3 separate regions of the Homo sapiens genome follow, and all the other regions are linked to region 3. The links are contacts of gene promoters, found by promoter capture Hi-C in blood cells and fetal thymus (Javierre and others, 2016). All regions are on one chromosome and are shown on one strand. The core of a region is centred on a gene start or on the middle of the fragment in contact, and the rest is flanking DNA. Distances in the headings are between cores, read along the strand shown.

Region 1 (3,251 bases), core at 752-3,251, 280 kb before region 3:
TTCATTCCAAGCAGGGAAACTGAGGCCCAAAGGGGCCTGCCAAGATGGCGCAACTGGTTAAAGGTCCGGAGGGGACCAGATCCCTATTTCTTGACCACCTCTGTTGAGATATCTTCTCCTTTGATATTGTTGAGAATATCAAATCCTCCCGGTTTTAACATTCCTTCAGTTGGCAGAAAGTGCCAGGGTCTACAAACCTTTGGGTGAGGATGGGAGCAGGGCTCAGGACCCATGTGATGCTTCTGTACACTTAATGTGCTGCTCTGTCCTGGCAACCACTGACCACTCTAACAAGCCATTCCCCAGCCCAGATGCGCTCATTAGCATTAATGACGTTCCCTCCCTGGGGGGGTAGGGGAAGGCCCAAGAGCTTGGGACTCATACTGGCTCCTACCCTCTCCCTGAGGAGGGGGCATCCAGGGCCCCTGAAGTTACCCTTACTGGACAGCCTTGTCCTGGAAGATCTGTGCACTCTGCCCACTGGGTGAGCAGGGACCCAGAAGACCACAGAACCACATCCTTTAGGGAGTGCCCCTACGAGAGGGGTCTTGGTGGGAGGGGGGCTACAGGAGTCTAGAAGGGAGAGGACATAATTCCCCCAAATCTCCAACTTTTGAGGAAAGCCTCCCCTCCTTGCCCCAGGTGGCCCCAGCACTGGGGTGGAACATGTGTACAGAGAACCAGGCCACAAGAGACTGGATACGCAGAGCCGCTATGGGCACCAGCCCCTCTGAGCTGTGTCCAGCCCCTACCCCTATGCCCTGTTCTTCCGGACAACAAGTCCAGGCCTGACCTGGTTCTGCCCCTACCTGGAAAGAGGGAAGACACAGAAGAAGACAGCCCCTGAGAAGTCCGCCCCAAGGCCTCCTTCCCCCTCGCACTGAAAGAATCTCTCAGCCCTGGATCAGGGCCCCTCACCAGGAAAGTTGACAGAGCGGGGTCTCAATGACACTGCCCCAGGGCCCAGCTGGGCTGGAAAACAGATCCAGACCAGCGCTCCCAGCCCTCCCTCCCCTAGCAGGAATAAAGGGCATGACAGACAATGGTGGGGACCGGGGTAGGAAGCGGGAGACCAGCCACCCTCAAACCTTGTCAAGTCTAAACAAGGGCCCTGAGCAAGTGTGGGGAAGAAAAGGCCCCAAATCCAGACCCCTCCGAGCCAAGCTCACAGCGCTCAGGGCTGGAACTCTGAATCAGCACCCCGACGCAGGCGGCAGAACTGAAGGGAACGTGAGCCCCTCCCTGCCTCTCAGGGGACACACGGCCGGGGCGCGCGGCTTTGGTCCCAGACACCCTCCACAACCCAGCGCAGCCGCGGCACCGCGCGCAGAAACCGGCCTGGGCGCTGGGAGGCCGGGCCCGAGGCCTGCGTGGAGCTGAGGCCGGGCGGGCTCCGGGAGCGCGCGGGCCGGGAGTCCAAAGGGCGGCGGGGCCCGGGACTGGGCGCCCCGGATATGAGCTCCAGGGTGGCAGGCAGGCCCTCCACACTGTGCGGCCCCCGGATCCCCGCCCCGACCCCCCAAGCACGGACGGCGGGACAGGCGACGGCACAGGGGACACGGTCTCCCCGGCTTCCCCACCTTCCCGGACCAACTCGTCCCCGTCGCGGGGGGGTGGGGAGGGCGGGGGGCGGGGCTTCCCGGAGAGATTTTCCCCCTTCCCTCTAAACTTCCCGGCACCCCGATCCGGGGCTCCAGCTCCGGCTGGACAATAGCTCGGGGACCCAGTCCCCCTCGAGTGTCGCCCCCCCAGCCAGCCCAGCCGACCAACCAAACCACCTCTCCCGAGCGGGGCCTCCTCCCGGCGTCCGCCCGGCTTACCTGGTCCGAGCTCGCGGGGGCGCTCCGGCCGGGCCGCTCCGCCGGGCCCGAGGGAGCCGCAAGGGGGGCCGGGGAAGGGGGGTCGTGGGGAGGGGGCTGGCCGGAATGTGCGGAATGAGCCGGGCTGGAGCGGGAGGCGCCGAGCGCGGAGGAGGGAGCGAGCGGGACGGAAAGTTTGTGTTGAGGAGCCGGGGCGGGGGTGGGGGCTGCGGGAAGGAGGGGGCGGGGCGCGCAGGGGGCGGTGCTGGCCGGGAGGGGCGGGGCCGTCCAGCCGCGCTCGGGCCGCCTACCCCGCGGCCTCGCGACCCGGCCACCCCGGCTGGCGCGCGCCTGGGCGCCCCGCTCCTCGCCCGCCCGTGCGGAGCTGCCTTCCTCCCCCTGCGCTCCGGGCCTCGCCCCGCTCCCGGGCACCCGCCGGAATTTGGGGCTCCGGCCTGGGGCGGGGCCGAGGGCGGAGCCCTCGCCTCGCGGGCAGGGCTCCCGTCGGTGCCGGGGGCCGTGGGTGCCGCGTCACGAGGAGCCCGGCAGAGCCGGAGCGCACGGGCCCCGGGGCTCCCGGCCCCTCCACCCTAGTCCCGAGCCGCCAAGGCGGAGCGTACCCTCCAGCTCGCGGGCCTGCCCCCCACTCCCGGGGCCCCAGACCCGGCTCCGCCCTGGCGGCTGCGCCCGCCCTGCCGGGACCCGGTTTGTCTGGTTCTCCCCGCGTGGCTAGTTTCTCGAATTTCTTCTCCCTTTCTCCCTCTTCCCCGACCTCCGGGACCCTCCCTTTCGCCCCGGCTCCCCGGGCCCCCACGGGGGGCGTCTCGACGCTGTGCGGCCGCCGAGTTTCGGTAGGACCCGCGACGGGCGCGGGGAGGGGACGCGGGAGCGCCCGGGGCCTGGGCAGGAGTGGGACGGGGGTTGAGACTTCCAGCTCGCGCCTCGGACGCCTCCTGCCGCCTCGTTCTCCGCACGCGCTGAGGAACCACCGCTCCGCTTGGCCAAGGACGCGGCTTTATTGGGGATGTGGGTGCCTGGCCCTCGTCCCCCATCACCTACCCCCTCCTCCTAGCCCGCCCCAGCTCCTCGGAGCCCTAGCGCGGTCCCGGGGAGAGGGGAGGTTAAAACAACAATGACTACTGCTCCCGGACAGGAAGTGACTGGGGCGCGGGGAGGAGGGGGGCACAGCGGCGCAGGCGAGCTCCGAGACCAGATGTGCGGCTCCAACTCCAGATGTTCTTCATCTCCGTCCTACCCGCCGTCCGGGCTCCTCCTGCCTCGGCCTGTGCCAGGCTGGGGAGAGGACGGAGGTCACCGAGAGGCAGTGAGAGGTCAGCCCCGACACAGGAGCAGTTTTCCGCGGGAGCTTTGCTGGAGGGACCCTGCCAGCCTCCACTGAATCCTTTCCCCCACGCTGACGGGCTCTGGGGGCGCTGAGGGGCTGCTGGGGTC
Region 2 (3,352 bases), core at 399-2,898, 350 kb after region 3:
CCCATGCCTGGGCAAGAGAGGGGTTGGACAAGTCAGGCTGGGCATCCAGAGCCCTTGCAGCCATCTCCTCCCCCCACCTGCCCACCTTGCTCCTCAGAGGCCTTTGTGGTTTGAGCAAAGAATCTCCATCAGGCTGCACAGGCCACCAGACAGGTGGCAAGGGCCCCAATTAGTCATTGTCCTCATAGAGCCTTAGGAAGTCCACAGAAACTGTGTTCAAAACTGCACATTTGGGCCAGGTGCGGTGGCTCACTTCTGTAATCCAAACACTTTGGGAGGCTGAGGTGGGCGGACCACCTGAGGTCAGGAGTTGAAGACCAGCCTGGCCAACATGGTGAAACCCCGTCTCTACTAAAAATACAAAAATTAGCTAGGAGTGGTGGTGTGCACCTGTAGTCCCAGCTACTCAGGAGGCTGAGGCAAGAGAATTGCTTGAACCTGGGAGGCGGAGGTTGCAGTGAGCTGAGATGGCGCCACTGCACTCCAGCCTAGGCAATAGAGTGAGACTCCATGTCAAAAACAAACAAAAATCCTGCACATTTGAACCTGCGTGGATATTTGGTATTATAGAATTAGTGCTATTAATTTTAGGTTTAAGAATGTATTGTGGGCCAGGCGCGGTGGCTCACGCCTGTAATCCCAACACTTTCGGAGGCCGAGGCGGGTGGTTCACGAGGTCAGGAGTTCAAGACCAGCCTGGCCAAGATGGTGAAACCCCATCTCTATTAAAAATACAAAAATTAGCCGGGTTTGGTGGCAGGCACCTACAATCCTAGCTAATCGGGAGGCGGAGGCAGAGAATTGCTTGAACCCGGGAGGCGGAGGTTGCAGTGAGCCGAGATGGCAACTGCACTCCGACAGAGTCTCAAAAAATATATATATATAGTATTGTGGATACGTACTTTTAAAAATCCTTACGTTTTAGAGATACAAAAATATTTATGAATAAAATGATATGACGCCTGGGTTTTGCTTCAAAACGATGGTGGGAGAGGAATGTGGATGAAATAAAATTGATTATGAGTTGTGGTTGCTGGGGAATTGGGGTCACGGGGGTTCATTAGAACCTCCTATCAGATGTGGTTCAGAAGCCTCAGACCTGGGAGCTGGCTAGAAATGCAGAATCTCGGCTCCACCCCAAACCTACTGAGTCAGGATCTGTATTTTAATCAAATAAAATGCCCAGGGGATTCCTGAGCACACTGAAGTGTGAGAAGCGCTGGCTTACTCTGTTCAATTCTTTCCTGCATGTTTGACATTTTCCATAATGAAGAGGTTGTGGGGTTTTGTTCTGCTTTCCTGTGTGTTCACAGTCACAGGGAGCTCTTCCTACGGAGACCGGGGCTGGAGGGAACTGGGAAGCACTGCCTCCCCGCTCCTGCTTGGACCCACCAGCCCCGCCGCTGGCCCGCGCTCGGCTGGGAGGCACCGGGGTCCCGCTGGGCAGCCCCGACCCCGTGCCTGGGCCGCACCTGCCGCAGTGGCTCCGTCGGGCCGGGCGGAAGCGCGGGAGCGCAGGGCTGGACAGGCCCGGGCGTGGCGGCCCCGGCGCACCTGGGCGAGCCGGCAGGTGGGAGCGTAGCAGCCCGGGGCCCCCGCCCTCGCGCGGGGGAGGAGCGGGCGGCGCGGGGCGGGCGCAGCGGGGGTCGGGGCGCTGGGAGCCCGTTGGGCCGCGAACGCAGCCGCCACGCTGGGGCCGCCGAGATCGGGTGCCCGGGATGAGCCTCATCCGGAAAAAGGGCTTCTACAAGCAGGACGTCAACAAGACAGCCTGGGAGCTGCCCAAGACCTACGTGTCCCCGACGCACGTCGGCAGCGGGGCCTATGGCTCCGTGTGGTGAGACCCCTGGGCCGCTGGGGGGCGGGGGGCGGGCGCCAGGCTCTCCCCTTTCCGCCCAGCCCGCCCTGGGCTGGCCCCTCGCCAGCGCCACCTTGACCGCGGACCTCAAGGCCCAGCGCCCTCCCCGGGGCCACCCAGCGGCCATCTCCCTTTTCTCACCGAGTGGCTGAGTGAGGTCTCTGGGGGTTGAGTTGGGACTGGGCCTGGTTCTCCAGGACTGTACACTTGCAAGACCCCAGAGTTCATCGGGCAGATCCTCACTGTTACAGACGAGTACACCGAGGCCCCAAGAGGGGGAGGTGGCTCGCCAAGTTGCAGACAGAGTGAGACTCCCGCCCTGCCGTGGATCCCGTCGCAATGAGACGTTGCTGCCCCTGGCGCTGTGCCCCTCTCTCAGCTCCTGCCTGGCTTCCTACTCCCTGCCCTGCGTCCCGCGGCTCCCCCATATTCTAGGTGGTGGGCCTAGTCCCCTCTCAGCCCAGCTGCCCAGTGGGAGGGGTCAGGGCGGTCTGGGAGATACGGCCCAGGAGGAGAGCCTCGCCTGCTGACCGGCCTGTGCCCGACAGCTCGGCCATCGACAAGCGGTCAGGGGAGAAGGTGGCCATCAAGAAGCTGAGCCGACCCTTTCAGTCCGAGATCTTCGCCAAGCGCGCCTACCGGGAGCTGCTGCTGCTGAAGCACATGCAGCATGAGAACGTAGGTGGTGGCTGCCCCGGGGAGGGGGTGGGGGCTGCCCTGGGGAGTCAGGGGCAGGCGCAGGCGGGGCCTCCCGGTATGGAGAGCTCGGGACAGTCTCCTCCCTGCTCCCCTGACGGTGCCTCTCGCCTCACTATTGAAAGGAGGGGGTGCCGAGACCTTCCCTGCCCACTTTCCAGGAAGAGGTCAAAGGGTATTTTTGGCAGAATGCACTTTGTGAGGTACAGACTGTGTTATCCTACAGAGGAAATTGGCACAGGGGAACTTTGTAATTGGTTCCATGTCTGAGAGCTTGTGGCCAGCTGGGACTAGAATCCTAGTTAGCGTTGTGTCCACGTGACCCTGATAACAATAGCAATATACACATATTGAGCACTTCCTATGTTCTAAGAGCTCTGCATACACTAACTTGTCTAGTCCTCATGATATATGAGTACTACTGCCCCCATGTCACAGACAGGAAACTAAAGCACAGCAAGGCTCACAGATTAGATGGTTAGTCAGTAGCAGAGCTGGGGTTTCAATCTCGGCAGCGAGGCTCCCGGTCTGAGCACATGACCATCAGATTGTCTTGTCTGATAGAAGCAGCTGGGAAAACCAGGGGCCCAGCTCAGGGCCTGGCAGCCAGGCTTTGCTGCAGGATACCTAGATTGGAGGGCAGACATTTCAAAGAATGATTTCAAAATGTTATGTACATTTTAAGCCCATCCTTCTCCAGCAAACCCCTCCCCTATGGCCTCCAGCCAGGGTGATCTTGCCCTTGGCTCTGAACCAGCCCTGTGGCAGGCAAGGATGGATGTGGCTGGAGACCCAAGG
Region 3 (3,286 bases), core at 786-3,285:
CAAGACTCCTTTGAATTTCCCAGCCTCCCTTGCAGAAGGTTAGAGGGTTGGGATCATGTGACTAGTTCCAGCAGGTGGTTTGTGAGTGGAGAAGGCAGGTCTTCCATGGAGACCTTGGATGCTAGTTTTTTTTTTTTTTTTTGAGACAGGGTCTCACTCTGTTGCCCATGCTGGAGTGCAGTGGCACGATCATAACTCACTGCAGCTTCAGCCTCCCGAGTAGCCAGGACTACATGCATGTGCCACCATGTCTGGCTAATTTCTTAAATTTTTTTTGTAGCAATGAGGTCTCACTATATTGCCCAGGGCTGGCCTTGAACTCCTGAGCTCACGAGATCCTCTCAGCCGGGCATGGTGACTCCCACTGGTAATCCCAGCACTTTGCGGAGGTTGCAGTGAGCCGAGATTGTGCCATTGCACTTCAGCCTGGGCAATAGCGTGAGACTCTGTCTCAAAAAAAAAAAAAAAAAAAAAAAAAAAAAAAACCAAAAAAACCCCCAAAACAACTGATCCTCTCTCCTTGGCCTCCCGAAGTGCTGTGAATACATGCATGAGCCACCATGCCCAGCCAGAGGCCAGTCTTATAGATGGCTACAGGATGGAAGAAGGGTATCTTGCCCCAAATCAGACTGTACATAAAGCATTATTGTGCCAAGCCACGAAATTCCAGGAGTTCTGTTGTTACAGCCAGTGTTAATTACTCTGTGACAGCTAGTGTTAATACAGGGAGGGCTCACGGAAATAATGGATACAAGGCCCTCTGAGTGCGGTGGGGGCTGTTATTCTTGGCTGTTATTCCCCACCAAGACAGGATTCCTCGGTTCATTTCTTAAGCGAAACTTCAAAAGCAGAAGCAGGCTGGGAGTGGTGGCTCACGTCTGTAATCCCACCACTTTGGGAGGCCGAGGCAGGAGAATCTCTTGAGCCCATGAGTTCAAGACCAGCCTGGACAACATAAGGACAACCTGTCTCTATAACAAATATTAACAATACAAAATTAAAAAAAAATAGAAATTAAAAAAAAGCAGAAGCAGGCAGGTGGGGTGAGGTGGAAGCTTCATCCATAGGGAAGTCCTGAGGAAGGCCTGCCTCCCCCGGTTCCAGGATTGCTCTGTGCAGCTCTAGCTCTCCCTTAACCCTCCTCCCTATTCTGAGTTTTCTTCTCTTCCCACTTCTCCATTTTGCCCCCACATCTTGACTTTCACACAATTCACAGACAAATCCTTAGACAATTAATAGAATGATTAAGACTGCAAGAGATTTAAGACTTAGAGACCATCTTGTCCCACCTCCTGGTTCTTACAGAAGAGGAGAATGGGGCCTGCAGCGGGTGTGAGCAGCCCAGAGGGTGGGGCTGGATTATCCCGAAGGTAAGGGGAGAATCTGGGGCTGCAAGGGCAGACAGAGAATCAACATCAGGAAGGAAGCTCTTTTTATTTCAGCATATATGTTTTGTGCCGTTTATAAAAATAAAGTTTTGAGGCCAGGTGCGGTGGCTCACACCTGTAATCCCAGCACTTTGGGAGGCTGAAGCAGGACCATCACTTGAGGCCAGGAGTTAGAGACCAGCCTGGGCGACATGGGGAGACCCCCGTCTCTACAGAAATTTTTAAAATTATCCCGGCGTGGTGGCGCACACCTGTAGTCCCAGCTACTCGGGAGGCTGAGGCAGGAGGATCACTTGAACCTGGGAGGCGGAGATGGCAGTGAGCCGAGATCACGCCACTGCACTGGGCGACAGTGCGAGACTCCGTCTGTAAAATAAATAAATACAATAAAATAGAGTTTTATCTTACAATAAAAATAGAGTTTTATCTTACAGTTTCAAGCTTCTACTTGGAAGTAACACGTATGGAGGCTCCCAGGGCCCCTACAGTCTGGAATCCCGCCCGTGCGAGCCTGAGCGCCTTTCCTCCCTCCTTCCCTTCCGCAGGCGTCCTCGCCCTCCACGTCCCTCCTCCGCCGGGGTGGCCTGGGGCGCCGGGTCACGTGGCCGGGGAAGAGGTTTTATCCCGCGGCCCCTCGGAACCCCGCCGCTGCTCTGCCGCCCAGGCCCATGGCCGCAGCCCTGGCGCTCGTGGCGGGGGTCCTGTCGGGGGCGGTGCTGCCCCTCTGGAGCGCGCTTCCGCAATATAAAAAGGTGAGCCGGGGAGCGCGCCCAGCCGGCCGCGACCGCAGGAGAGGGTGGCCCCGCCGCCGGGGCACTGGAGCCCGAAGGCGCCGGGCAGCCTGAAAGGGAGAGGTGGGTCCGGAACCACACCCAGGCGGGTAGCCTGGGGCATCCTCAGACGGACTTCAAAAGCCGCTTCACTTTCCCCTGGTGGCCTCAGAGGGGAGAGAAATTGGCCTATGACCAGCACCCTCGCTCCCTCCACCTCCCCCGCCCGTGCCCCTTCCGATGGCCTCAGTCCTGGGCTCGCTTCCCTCCCCAAACTGCTCACAGGCAAACCCACCCTGCATGCTCTGGTTTCTCCTCCTCTTCTTCCACCTCCTCTCACTGTCTAGTGATTCTTCCAGGCACGAGGGCTCTCCCCTTTTCTCCTCTTTCTCTCCCTCTTTTTCGAGCCCGCAGCCCCTTCATTCTCATCCCCCAACCCTGCCCCGCAAAATGGGACTTAAGAGTACACACCCCATGGGACTCATGGAGGTGAGGGGGGTCCAGGAAAGGAGAGGCCGAGGGAAAAGTGCTAATCCCCCTCTCCTCCTCTCTGCTGCCCTGGGTCCTGCTGAGGGGCCGGGGTGGGGCTGGGGGGGGAACCAGCCCCCCAAGGGGTGACAACCTCATGACTTCTCCTGGATCCCTGGGCTCTTTGGCAATGGTGGGAACCCTCCCCTACCCGCCCACACGACTCAGGGATTGCTCCCAGCCTGGCAGACATTCTGCCTGTCCCCACAGAAAATCACAGACAGGTGCTTCCACCACTCTGAGTGCTACAGTGGCTGCTGCCTCATGGACTTGGACTCCGGTGGAGCCTTCTGTGCCCCCAGGGCCAGAATAACCATGATCTGCTTGCCCCAGGTGAGGCCCTAGTATGGGGCAACTTCTGGCAAGTAGAGAAGCGGGCAGGGAGGTTAAAAAAAAAACACCTGGCCCCACCTGTTTTTTCACCTCTGTCTGGAGTGCCCTTCTTCTTCTCCACTTGGCAAACTCCTACTCATGGTGCAAAACAACTCCAGCCACCTCCTCTGAGAAGGCTTCCCTCCTTGGAGCTCCTGTACCCTGGGGTCAGACCCTCAGCAGACCATGTATCTCCCTAACTGGCCATGTCTTTTCTCTGCCTCTCCC

What was found. Contacts are between HindIII fragments. The CHiCAGO score rates a contact against its expected background, and 5 or more counts as called.
Region 1: the fragment with the promoter of TEAD3 here is called in contact with the fragment with the promoter of CLPSL2 in region 3 in 12 of 17 cell types (non-activated CD4 T cells, endothelial precursors, total CD8 T cells and 9 more); the score reaches 10.9 in non-activated CD4 T cells.
Region 2: a contact is called between the fragment with the promoter of MAPK13 here and the fragment with the promoter of CLPSL2 in region 3, in 2 of 17 cell types (activated CD4 T cells and total B cells). The highest score is 5.5, in activated CD4 T cells.

The regions. Positions count from the first base shown.
Region 1 is chr6:35,495,078-35,498,328 of GRCh38, forward strand. It overlaps TEAD3 (TEA domain transcription factor 3), which reads right to left and starts at 2,002. Exons shown (of 13, transcript NM_003214.4): 1 at 1,821-2,002. It overlaps TULP1 (TUB like protein 1), which reads right to left. Exons shown (of 15, transcript NM_003322.6): 15 at 2,797-3,251. The coding sequence ends at 3,250. It overlaps LOC124901309 (a long non-coding RNA gene), which reads left to right and starts at 3,056. Exons shown (of 2, transcript XR_007059561.1): 1 at 3,056-3,130. RefSeq lists enhancers at 246-1,031, 1,978-2,908, 2,909-3,251 and silencers at 1,810-1,859, 2,040-2,169, 2,180-2,509. The HindIII fragment of the contact is 26,537 bases long and covers 1-3,251 here.
Region 2 is chr6:36,128,865-36,132,216 of GRCh38, forward strand. It overlaps MAPK13 (mitogen-activated protein kinase 13), which reads left to right and starts at 1,649. Exons shown (of 12, transcript NM_002754.5): 1 at 1,649-1,837; 2 at 2,407-2,536. The coding sequence starts at 1,719. RefSeq lists silencers at 1,545-1,794, 1,835-1,904, 2,545-2,654 and enhancers at 1,800-2,403, 2,295-2,414, 3,125-3,352. The HindIII fragment of the contact is 20,068 bases long and covers 1-3,352 here.
Region 3 is chr6:35,774,563-35,777,848 of GRCh38, forward strand. CLPSL2 (colipase like 2) reads left to right here and starts at 2,036. Exons shown (of 3, transcript NM_207409.4): 1 at 2,036-2,140; 2 at 2,897-3,019. The coding sequence starts at 2,057. RefSeq lists a silencer at 2,017-2,146. The HindIII fragment of the contact is 8,503 bases long and covers 1,828-3,286 here.